3 separate regions of the Homo sapiens genome follow, and all the other regions are linked to region 1. Evidence: promoter capture Hi-C in human tissues and cell types (Jung and others, 2019). All regions are on one chromosome and are shown on one strand. Each heading gives the region's core, a stretch centred on a gene start or on the middle of the fragment in contact. The rest is flanking DNA. Distances are from core to core; before and after follow the strand shown. Region 1 holds the start of NCOR1 (nuclear receptor corepressor 1). Region 2 holds the start of ALKBH5 (alkB homolog 5, RNA demethylase). Region 3 has its middle 7.3 kb from the start of FLCN.

The links. Contacts are between HindIII fragments. The study calls those that stand out against the background at their distance.
Region 2: a contact is called between the fragment with the promoter of ALKBH5 here and the fragment with the promoter of NCOR1 in region 1, in 1 of the 25 tissues and cell types used here (dorsolateral prefrontal cortex).
Region 3: a contact is called between a fragment that was not itself captured here and the fragment with the promoter of NCOR1 in region 1, in 1 of the 25 tissues and cell types used here (bladder).

Annotation. Positions count from the first base shown.
Region 1 is chr17:16,213,619-16,217,607 of GRCh38, reverse strand. NCOR1 (nuclear receptor corepressor 1) reads left to right here and starts at 2,074. Exons shown (of 46, transcript NM_006311.4): 1 at 2,074-2,246. It overlaps PIGL (phosphatidylinositol glycan anchor biosynthesis class L), which reads right to left and starts at 398. Exons shown (of 7, transcript NM_004278.4): 1 at 147-398. The coding sequence starts at 381. RefSeq lists enhancers at 373-622, 1,809-1,868, 1,446-2,361, 2,362-3,278 and a silencer at 2,139-2,608. The HindIII fragment of the contact is 13,683 bases long and covers 1-2,520 here.
Region 2 is chr17:18,181,568-18,185,556 of GRCh38, reverse strand. ALKBH5 (alkB homolog 5, RNA demethylase) reads right to left here and starts at 1,729. Exons shown (of 4, transcript NM_017758.4): 1 at 544-1,729. The coding sequence starts at 1,313. RefSeq lists silencers at 852-1,003, 1,162-1,251, 1,332-1,631, 3,768-3,989 and enhancers at 897-1,734, 1,842-2,081, 2,142-2,341. The HindIII fragment of the contact is 6,004 bases long and covers 1-3,355 here.
Region 3 is chr17:17,242,462-17,246,450 of GRCh38, reverse strand. It overlaps the pseudogene ACTG1P24. Among named protein-coding and RNA genes, the nearest start is that of FLCN, 7.3 kb to the right of the region's middle. The HindIII fragment of the contact is 7,478 bases long and covers 1-3,989 here.

The sequences.
Region 1 (3,989 bases), core at 825-3,324:
AGGCTGTGAGGGGTTCAGAGGTAAGACCTTCGGTGTATTCACTTAGCTCCCTACGGAAAACTTCGAGAAGAAGGCGACTGAGATCGGTTAGCACTTAAATCCCTTTCAAAGCCCCGGCTCCCATCGCCCCTCCTATGGCCTCCTACCTGCAGAGAAGCAAAGCAGGTACACCCAGTGCCTTAGGCGGGCCAAGCCTAGCACTGTGGGAGCAAAAAACATGGCTTCATCGTCAGGGTGCGCTATGACCAGCAGGGTCCGGCTTTCGGCTCCCAGCCGTCCTCCCTGCTCCCGACTCTTCATTCGTTCTGAGGAGTCCCAAACCCAGAGGAAGCCCCATGCCAAGACCGCCAACGCCACACACAGGAGCCACATTGCTTCCATGATGGGTAAGCAGCACTGAGCCTGCGCAGTAGGAAAGGCTGCCTCTGACCCTGACTCCGGCTGGAAAACTTCACCGGGGAATGTTGGGTTCCGCTGTTAAGTCCCTCCCGCCGACATGCTCCGGAAGCTTGAGGTTTTAACGTTAAGGGTTCTCTTGTGTTTTAACACAGAAGTCTCCATGCCGTCCAGTTTCCTACCCTAGTCCTACCACACTGTACAATCGGTTTAAAAGGAAGCGTCTTATATATAAGCTCCCACTTATAGGAAGAGTTCCTTCCTCTTCATTTTCGAATTCATTTCTTAAAACTCGGGCCTTTCTCGTAATTATAGGGTTAGACAGCCCGTTATCCGTATGACAGTTTTCCAAAATAGCCAGTTACACCAACTTTGTTATTCCTTCTCACTTTTGGATGGCTTTCTTTACCTTTTTTTTTTTTTTTGAGAGGCTCTGTCGCCCAGGCTGGAGTGCAGTGGAGCGATCTCGGCTCACTGCAACCTCTGTCTCCCGGGTTCAAGCGACTCTTCTGCCTCAGCCTCCCGAGTAGCTGGGACTATAGGCGCGCGCCACCACGCCCAGCTAATTTTTGTATTTTTAGTAGAGAGGGGGTTTCACCATGTTAACTAGGCTGGTCTCGAACTCCTGACTTCGTGATCCGCTCGCCTCGGCCTCCCAAAGTGCTGGGATTACAGGCCTGAGCCACCGCGCCCGGCCCTTTCTTTTTTTTTTTTGAAACGGTCTGGCTCCGTCGCCCAGGCTGGAGTGCAGTGGCGCGACCTAGGTTCGCTGCTACCTCAGCCTCCCGCGTTCAAGCAATTCTCCCACTTCGGTCTCCCCAGTAGCTGGGATTACTGGCGCGCGCCACCACGCCCGCTTAATTTTTGTATTTTTAGTAGTGACGGGGTTTCTCCATGTTCGTCAGGCTGGTCTCGAACTCCTGACCTTAAGTGATGGCCCGCCTCGGCCTCCCTAAGTGCTGGGATTACAAGCGTGACCCACTGCGTCCGGTCGGGCCTGGCTTTTCTAAAGGAACGTATGCGTGCGGTTACGAGGAACCGTCGTTTCCCCAGCAGGGTGAGGCTGAGCGTGCACTTAACAGTCGCGAGGGCCACAGGCTCCTCTTGCAAGTAACTTAAGGTTAAGGAGCAACATCGTGGACAAATCGGCCTCGCCCAGCATTTCAGTGAGGGCTTGGTGCGAATTCCAGCCAGAGCCCTAGAAAGTATCTTGGGCAGGTCGAAATGCACCCCTCCAGCTCCCAGCCACGAGGGGACCGGCTTCCCTGTACGCAGCTCCGGCCAGAGGAGGCCGCCGCCGCCCCACCACGCCGCGGAGGGGTTTGCAGGGTCCCTTCCACGGCCTGGAGTTTTTCCTTTTCCCACGCCTGAGGAAGGCCTCGGGCGCGCGGAACAGACGGGCAGGCGGGGGGCGCACAAGCCCAGGGCACGATGGCAGCAGCGCTGGATCCGGCTGGGCGCTGCTCGGCCCCGTATCCGTCCGAGAGGACCGCCGCTGCCAGGCCTAGAGGAGACATGAAGAGACCGGGCGCAGCGCGACCCGGGAAGCTCCGCCGAGGTAGGAGAGGCGCCCGGCCAGCGGAGGGAGTTGGTCTCCCAACTCTCCGGAAGGAGGAGGAGCCGGCGCTGGAGCCGCCTTAGCCGCGGCTCCGCGGGCTGGGGGGAGGGAGAGGGGTTGAGTCAAGATGGCGGCCAAGGTGGCGAAGCAGCAGCCGCGGCGGCGGCGGCGGCTGGAGTGAGCGTCCGACTCGCCGCGCCGAACGAGGTCCCGGTGTAGGGCCGCGCGCCGTGGCCGCGTCCCACTCCTCAGGCCGGGGCGCACGTCGGCTCCCACGCTTAGCCAGCTCCCGGTGAGTAGGCCCTGGCGCCTGCAACCCCGGCCTCCGGGCTCCTGCTAGTCCGGGGGCTTCCGAGGGCTCCCGGGGCAGCAGCCGCTGGGACGGTTTCTCCGCCGGGCGGGGGGTGTCGCAGGCCTGGGCAGGTCGGGACCCGTCCTGGCCGCCTGGCCTCTTCCACTCGGCAGCCCAGGAGAGAGCCGGGCGCGGCGGGGAGCTCGGGCTGGGCTAGCGGAGGCTTATGGAGTTTGGAGGAAGAATGGGCTGTGGCCGGGCCGGGGCTGGCCCCGAGGTGTCCTGTGCGGAGGGGCGTGCGGAGCCTACAGGGCCTGCGAGGGAGAGCGGGCAGCCGGTGCCCCGGGTGGGGCCGGCGCAGGTGGCGGGCCTGGGCTCACTGAGGCGGAGTTGGTGGCCGACTTGGAAGTGTAGAAGGGGCTGCGGAGGTTGACAGCCATGGACAAGTGCGTGCAGAGTAAATTAGTTCACCTTTCTAACAGACCGCTTCAGGGTGTAATGGCGAAGGCTGGGTACTGGTGGAGATGGCAAAGATCCGAACACTATACCTTCTGCCGTTTATTGTTGGTGTTTTCTTAAGCGAAGTCCGTAAGTGCACCCCTTTTTGGGGAGAGAGGAATTTGAGAAACTGTAGTTGTGAAATCAGCCTTTATGGAGAGGAGACTGAATTCTTCAAATTAACTGGATCAGGAATAGTCATGTATTAAAGGAATGGATGGGAATAAGTGATATGGACGAAAACTATTTGCTCAGGAAGTGTCAGTTTTCTTTATGTGATGTTGCATGCTGCGGTGCCTCTTCCACAGAGTTAACCTTGGAGAGTAGTAGTATAGGTAATTCTAATCTTTGGGATTAGTATGTAAACCTGCATCAGATTTGCTTCTCTAATTATATCCTAATTATATTGAAATTTACATTCCTTGTGTGCACCCTGGTGAGGCAGTGATGGAAGGCTGAACATGGCACTGTGCAAGGAGCAACAGGCCCGGGATTTAAAAATGCCTACAAAGATTCATTCATTCGTTCAATATATCTTGATCAATAGCTGCTGATGCTGGGTCACATGTGATTGTCCTGTGGATAACTGAAGAGTTGATGGCATCGTTTAATTTTTAATAGCTTTTTAAAATGTTTTGATGTACCTTTTCATGAAGATATTTATTGGATGAACCAACTTGTACTTGCCCGGGCTCAGGAGCAGACCAATTTTAGAATGTTATTTAGACAAGGGTAACAATTACAGAAGAAGTAACCGCAAGTTACTGGAGAGAGAAATCTTGTATCTTTTTTTCTTTTTCTGTTAACATCCGGTGGAAGTTTATTTATTTGTTTTAATATTTATAGTACCCAGTTGCTTGGCCTTGCTTTAAGCACACCTGTTAATGGAAATCAAGATTAATTGTATATATGGATATAGCTATGTATAAAATGCTCACAGTAGGAACTGATTACTTACAATACTAAAATACTCTTTCCTTTTACAAAAGGCTTGCCATATGTTGAACTACTCCCCCGGAGAAAATATAATACAAAGTATCTTGATTCTTGCTCTAACTATGTGATTTTGGAACTTGATCAACCTTTCTGTGCTTCAGTTTCCTCATCTTGAATATTAGGTAAACATCTACTCTCCTAGGGTTGGCTGTTGTGAGCCTAAAGGGAGTTAATAGTTATAAAATTGTTTTAAACAGATTGAAGGGGTTATATTTCTGTGAGGTGGTAACAGCTCCCTCTGGGCTCCTG
Region 2 (3,989 bases), core at 480-2,979, 2.0 Mb before region 1:
AATCTGTTCAACTCCAGGGAAGTCACTCCCCCTCCTGGGAATGGAGAATGTGCTTCAATTAAATAATCTCTGGGGCCTTTGCCTGTGACTACTTTCTCTGTTAAGGAATCCAAAAATGGCAGAACAAGAAAGACTTTTAGATAAATTAAAAAAAAAAAAAATTTTAAAGCATAGATTTGTAAATGGAAGGCCAGAATGGAAAACCGGAAAATCACAAAGGGACTTATGCTAAGAAATGGATGGTGGGAAAAAAAAAAATCAAAGGGAACAGCCTTCTGAAAAGATGGCTTTCGATGAATTCTCAGCCAAGTCAGTGATCCCGTCAAACCTGCCTTCGGGGACAGGATTTCCACATCGGTTCCCTATTTTCTTGCTATAGGTATCTTAAACACAAAACCCTTCTCTCGCTCCCTACAATCTACAAACAGAAGAACTGGTCAGAACTGTAAAAAACGCAGACTCCTACGGGCTGCTGCTTTCTGGGCCAGGGTGGGTAGCTAAGGCAGCAGGCGCAGGGCCGCCCCCTCCACCCGGGTGGGTTACCTGAGCACAGTCACGCTTCCCCTGCGCACCGGCAGGGAAAGCACTGGTTCCGACACCCGAATAGGCTTGAACTGGAACTTGCAGCCGAAGCACAGCGCAGAGTCGCTAAAGAAGGACACGGACACGATGGGGCGCTCGAAGATGTGGATGGGGTCCACGTGAGACACGATGCAGCCGCCGGGCTGGTAGTCGTTGATGACGGCGCTGTTGACGAAGCCCTCGGGGATGACGCGGTGCTCCACCAGCTTTTGGATCACCAGCTGGTGCACCCACTCGGGGATCTCGTCCACGTCGCCCGGCGGGTAGAGGCGCTCCTGGCCGGGCCCGCGCTTCTGCAGCTGGGCGCCGTAAGTGTAGCCTTCGCCGAAGAAGTACTTGTTGCGCAGTGGGGCCCGGTCCACCGTGTGCTCGTTGTACAGGCCCTTCTCAGCGCGGGACACCACCTCGTCAATGCGGGCCTCGATCTTGGCGCACTCGTCCTGGCTGAAGAGGCGCATCTGGCGGATGCCGCTCTTCACCTTGCGCGCCTCCTCCTCCTTCTGCAGCTGCTGCTCCTCATAGTCGCTGCGCTCGGGGTCCGAGTCCTCCTGATACTTGCGCTTGGCCCCGGACACAGGGTAAGGTTCGGCGGCAGCGGCGGCTGCGGCTGCGGCGGCTACGGCGGCTGCGGCAGCGGCGGCGGCCTCCCGGCTGCCCGCCTTATAGTTGTCCCGGGACGTCATGGACTTGAGCTTCTCACGCAGGTCCGTGTAGCCGCTGGCGGCCGCCATGGCCCCCACGACGCTGCTCTAGGGTCCTCCGGGGCGGGCGGGGCAGCCGGGCATGGCTCTAAGGGGACGCGCCCCGGGGCCCCCGGAGGGAGGGGGGTCCTTAGCGCCGAACCCCCATGCGTGAGTGGGGGACCCGGCGGGGGGCGTCGAGGGTCCGGGCGTGGGGTAGGGCCTCAGGAGCGGCGGGTCATGCAACGGTGGCGACAACGGGGCTTCTTCCTCCTCCACCTTCTCCACGTCCCGCGGGGCAGGGGCGCCGGCAGCGCCTCATGCCGCGGAGGGCTGCTGCGGAGACGCGGCCCGACTCCCGACCAGACCCTCGGACGCCCGGCCCGGCCCGCACTTTAAAGCTCTCCGCACGACGTCACGGGCAGCCAGCCCGACGTCCGCCAGCGCCGCTCCTTAGCGGGCTCCTCACCGCGCACGCGCAGTGCTGCCGGCCACCGCGGCTCCGCGCGCTACGGGCATGCGCGTGCGTGCAGGCCGGGTCGGCAGAGGCGCCGGCGCAAGCGCAGACAGGAACCGCTTGCCGTCCGCCGCCCCTCCCCCACTCTCTGAGGGGCTTCAAGGGAACGCTCTCAAATAGCAACCTGTCTTCACGCCGCGCCGCCTCCAGGACCGAAGGGCTCCCTCTACAGGGGTGCGCTCATATTGCCAACAGTGTCGCCGTGCCGCGTCACGGCATCGTCCGAACGCCCGCAGACGCCTCAACCCCAGGGCGCATTCACCAGGGAACCGCCACAACGTAGGCCGCTCCGTTACCTCCCCCTTTGGCGCTTCCACTTCTTTAATTGGGCCGTGGGCCACGCGCCGGGCAGGCCCTGACTGGAGTTTCCGGAAGTCGGTTGGTAATCATGCGTGTCAATCAGGCAGTCTCCTTAGCTACTGTGTCCGTCACTTAATTAGCGGCTGGGCGAGCAGCGAGGACCCCTAAAGGAGAAATGGGTGGTTAAATAAGTGCCTGAATGGAGACTCCACCTGAGTAAAGCCCTTAGAACGCCTAAGGAAACTTCTGAAACCCGCGAAAACTTCTCAGACTGCGGGACCTGCAGCACCCGGCCCCAGTTCTGAACCCAGATAGGAACGTCCGGCAGAAGCCAGACGCGCGTTGTCGGGGTACAAGCCAGCCTGCCGCCGCTGCCGCCGCCGCCCGGAGCGGACGTTTCACGAGTCACGTCCCGGTGACGGCGAGCGTGGGGGCGCGCTGGGGTTGGCGTCGAGCCTCCTTGGTGCTGGAGATGGGCGTGGGGGCACCTCCTACGGGGACTCTGGAAGAAAACTCCAGGAAACGAACGGGCGCAAGGCTAAGGCTAAGCTATAGATAATGACTACAGTCAATTCAAAAAAGTTTTGAAGCAGTCAGCAAAGGCGTTGCCGGGCGCGGGGCCTCACGCCTGTAATCCCAGCACTTTGCGAGGCCAAGGCGGGCGGATCACTTGAGCCCAGGAGTTTGAGACCAGCCTGGCCAACATGGCAACCCCATCTCTACAATAAAATTTTTAAAAATGAACTGGGCGTGGTGGCGCGCGCCTATGGTCCTAGCTACTCAGGAGGCTGAGGTGGGAGGATCCCTTGAGCCCAGGGGATTGAGGCTGCAGAGAGCCGAGCTGGCGCCACTGCACTCCGGCCTGGGCGACAGAGCTGCAAAACAAAACAAAAAGGCGTAGCCGTGCAGGATGCACTGGAGGGCTCCAACAAATGGGGGTCGGGGGGGATCTGCTGGAAAATCTCCCATGTCTCCCAGGATAAAGTTCCCCTGCTTTATTTGGCACTCAAAGCTTTTCTTCAAGACTCTTCTGGCCTTGGCTCCTCCTCTCCTCTCTTTCCATGTACACTGAGCCCCAGCCTGGTCCTCATCCTGTAAGCCAGGTCTACAAACATACTGTGTCTCACCTCCTGGCCTTTGCCCAGGCTGTTTGCCATGGCTGTTGCCCATGCCAGTTCCTTATCACCCGTCTCCCTCTCTCTCTCCCCCTTCCCCTCCTCCTCCTCGTTCTTTTTTGACAGAGTCTCTGTTGCCCAGGCTGAAGTGCAGTGGCACGATCTTGGCTGACTGCAATCTCGACCTCCCGGGTTCAAGACATCCTCCCACACCTCAGCCTCCTGAGTAGCTGGAACTATGTAGAGGCGTGTACCACCACACCCCGCTAATTTTTCTGTTTTTAGCAGAGATGGGGTTTCACCATGTTGTCAAATTGGTCTTGGAACTACTGGGCACAAGATCCTCCTGCCTCGGCCTCCCAAAGTGCTGGGATTACAGGCGTAAGCCACTGCGCCCAGCCTGGAATGGACATTTTTTTAAAAAGCTTATCAAGTTTTTACTATGTGCCAGGACCTGTGCATATACTAGCCCAATTAATCGTCCAAACAATTCAATGAGGAGGGCATTATTATTATTACCATTGTATATATAGGGAAACAGGCCCAGAGAGGTGAAATGACTTGCCCAAGGCCATACAGCGAGTATGTGGCCTAGTGATGATTCAAACCCAGGCTGCCTGGTTCCAGAATCTGTGCTGTCCCTCACCGGGGCTCCGAGAGGGGAGAGTCCTAGCTCAAGAGCAGTCAGGGAGGAACACAGGGAAGCTTCCAATGCAGTGTCCGTTATGGGAGAGGCTGTGTCAACCTAGAGAAGAGGTGATTCACATTTTGGCTCAACCTGGATGATCTACTTCC
Region 3 (3,989 bases), core at 1,116-3,615, 1.0 Mb before region 1:
AAAATTAACATGCATATTAGTGAGAGTATGAGTTGTGGATTATGAGATGCCATTGGTGCTTCACTTTTTTTTCTTTTTTTTTTTAAGAGACAGGGTCTCTGTCACCCAGGCTGCAGTGCAATGGTGCCATCATGGCTTACCTAAACTTCCCAGGCTCAGCTGATTCTCCTACCTCAGCTTCCTAAGTAGCTGGGACTACAGGCGAGCACCACCACAGCCAGCCTTTTTTTTTTTTTTTTTTTTTTGTAGAGATGGGGTTTTGCCATGTTGTCCAGGTGGTGTCAAAAGCACTTTCCAACCTTTAGTGGGTGCTACACTTTTGTAGTCTTGAAAATGGCTTTTCTCCCCCTCTCAACTTACAGTTTTTAAGAGACAAATGGCAGGCTTTCCCACTTTTTCTTGTCAAAGCATATCAGGTAAACTGATAGTTGCATTTTGATTATGTTCAGGGCCTCTCCTGTCACAGGAATTTGGACTAGGATTTACTGATTTAGCCCTGGAATGGTGTGGAGCAGAATAAAGTGTGGTCAGGTTAAAACACATCAAATTTGTTCCTTAAAAAAATCTCTCTCACTACAAACATTCAGTTTTTAAAATGTTTCAAGTTGTCTGGTAAGGCACATTTTCATTATTTAAAAAAGAAACCTCAGCTGTGTGCAGTGGCTTACGCCTGTAATCCCAGCACTTTGGGAGGCCAAGGCAGGTGATCACCTGGGTCAGTAGTTTGAGACCAGCCTGGGCAATATGGTGAAACACCATCTCTACTAAAAATACAAAAAATGAGCCGGGCATGGTGGTGGGTGCCCGTAATTTCAGCTACTCAGGAGGCTGAGGCAGGAGAATCGCTTGAACCCGGGAGGTGGAGGTTGCAGTGAGCCAAGATCATGCCACTGCAATCCAGCCTGGGTGACAAGAGCAAGACTCTATTAAAAAAAAAAGAAAAGAAAAGAAACCTCATGAGTCACATAAAAAGTTACCCTAATAGAGTCCACACTTAGGCTTTGGAGGTCATATGGCCTATTGTAACTGTGGCCATTTTAGTAGTAAAACTTTATTTATAAAAAGTAGGCAGTGGCCAGGCATGGTGGCTCATGCCTGTAATCCCAGCACTTTGGGAGGCCAAGGCGGGTGGATCACCTGAGGTCAGGAGTTTGAGACCAGCATGACCAACATGGTGAAACAGTCTCTACTAAAAATACAAACATTAGCTGGGTGTGGTGGCAGGCGCCTGTAATCTCAGCTACTCAGGAGGCTGAGACAGGAGAATCGCTTGAACCCGGGAGGTGGAGGTTGTGGTGAGCCAAGATCATGCCATTGCACTCCAGCCTGGGCGACAACAGCAAAACTCCATCTCAAAAAAAAAAAAAAAAAAAAAAGGTAGGCAGCAGGCTAGGTCTGACCTGAAGCCTATAGTTTGCTGACCTATCAACTAAACTGTCAAATTCTCTAGCCCTTGAATTAGGACTATTTGTGGGTTGCATCCCTTTCACTTGTTTACGTATACCTGCACTTAGGAAACAAAATATTTAATGGGAAATGATCATTTATCTGTGTAATGAATTATAGACCCTGTTTTATTTTTAAAAAACAATTAGCTTCTCATTATCTGGATCTGAAATCAAAATCACTTAGAATGTGTCTGTGAACTGCTAGTACTTGTCAGTCGTGACTATATAAGTGAAAAGTACTGTGAGCTGCTAATGATGTGGATGCTATTATAATTTTTTACCCAAGGTGGATTCATTAAAATAACTGCATTTTTTGGAAACTTGAACTGAAAGGGGATATGTTATTTAGAACCTTGTCCTAGTACCTGCAAACCCTGAGTCTGTTTGAGGGGAGAGCTGGTCACAATCGTTTCAGCTTTGAATCCCCTGTTCTGTGTTCTGCTTTGTGATTCTTGGGCTAGACCTCTGCAAACCAGCAAGAAGGGGATTAGAGCTCGGGGGAGAAAGTGACAGGCTCCCTGCATCTGCCTCTGTTGAGCAGCATGGTCCAGGCAAGTCTGCTTCCAGTGTGCAGTTTCCCCCATGCTCCTAGAATCAGCCTCAGCACAGCCCCTTAGAGATAAAGGGGCCCAGGAGGCAGGCCTCCCCCATCTTCCCACTGTGCCCTCCTTCAGAATTTTAAATTCTATTCGTCCCAATCTTTTCCCTTTGTTCCCCAACCCTTAAGGGGTGGTATCTGCTCACTGTAGCTACTACCTCAGTGAGACTCCTGAATTTTTTTTTTTGAGATGGAGTCTCCTCTGTAGCCCAGGGTGGAGTGAAGTGGTGTGATCTCAGCTCACTGCAACCTCCACCTCCTGGTTTAAGCAATTCTCCTGCCTCAGCCTCCCTAGTAGCTGGGATTACAGGCACCCACCACCACGTCTAGCTAACTTTTGCATTTTACTAGAGACAGGGTTTTGCCATGTTGGCCTGGCCAGGCTCAAACTCCTGACCTCAAGCAATCCACCCACCTTGGCCTCCCAAAGTGCTGGGCTCACAGGCGTTAAGCCACCGCACCCAGCCGATTTTTTTTGTTTCTTTTACAGCAGTACTTTTATTTTTCCTTACACAATGACGTGTTGCTGGGGCCTGATGTTCTCACATAACAGTAAAAAAACAAAATGTGTTGTCATCTCAAAGAATTGAGAATTGAGTACAAGAAAACCCTACATAAATTAAAGGGATGAATACATTTACAGGTGGAAATACGAACTGCTTCCAACTCAAGACAAGTAGCAGCTCATGGTGTTCTGGCATGAAAACATCAGCTAAGAGAGGAAACTTGGTCCTATGGCTTGGACTTTTCCAACCCTGATAGACCGGCAAGACAGAAACAATTGGTTCAGGAGCCCTTACCAGGCTCTACAGCAGAACACTCTGCCCTGACACATTAATACACTGCACAGATCGGAGACTGCTGGCCACACAGACTCACCAAACCACTGACCTGTCTTCCACAAGCCAGTTCTTACCTCAGCCACGAAGTGACCAAGCCACACGTACTAAGGGTTGAAATCAAAGATGTATAGGGCATTACACAAATACCAAGGAGAACAGTTAACTTGAATACAAGGTCAAAATCAGCAACAAGTTTTACAATCCAGTGCTGATATCAGATACAAACCTTAAGGACAAACTTCTTTCAAAGGCTTATTCCAGTTTCGTGAGGCTAGTATGAGGTGTATGCATTTGCCAGGGGCAAATTTTTTTTTTTCTTTTGAGACGGAGTTTCGCTCTGTTGCCCAGGCTGGAGTGCAGTGGCACAATCTTGTCTCACTGCAAGCTCCACCTCTCAGGTTCACACCATTCTTCTGCCTCAGCCTCCCGAGTAGCTGGGACTACAGGCACCCTCTACCACGCCCGGCTAATTTTTTTGTATTTTTAGTAGAGATGGGGTTTCACCGTGCTAGCCAGGATGGTCTTGATCTCCTGACCTTGTGATCTGCCCACCTCGGCCTCCCAAAGTGCTGGGATTACAGGCGTGAGCCACCACGCCCGGCCTCCAAGGGCAAATTTATACTCTGGAATTAACCCATGCAGTAAATGCTACTCATCGGCTCACAGTCCGTTTAAAAGCGTTTGTGGTGGATGATGGAGGGGCCTGACTCATCTTACTCCTGCTTGCTGATCCACATCTGCTGGAAGGTAGACAGTGAGGCCAGGATGGAACTGCCGATCCACACTGAGTACCTGTGCTTGGGGCGGGGCACAATGATCTTGATCTTCGTGGTGCTGGGCACCAGGGCAGTGATCTCCTTCTGCATCCTGTCAGGATGCCCCAGTACATGGTGGTGCCGCCAGACAGCACGTGTTGGCATATAAGTCTTTGCAGATGTCCACATCACACTTCATGATGGAGTTGAAGGTGGTCTTGTGGATGCTGCAACATTCCATGCCCAGGAAGGAAGGCTGGAACAGTGCCTCCAGACACTGGAACTGCTTGTTGCCAATGGCGATGACCTGGCCATGGGCACCTCACAGCTATTCTCCAGGGAGGAG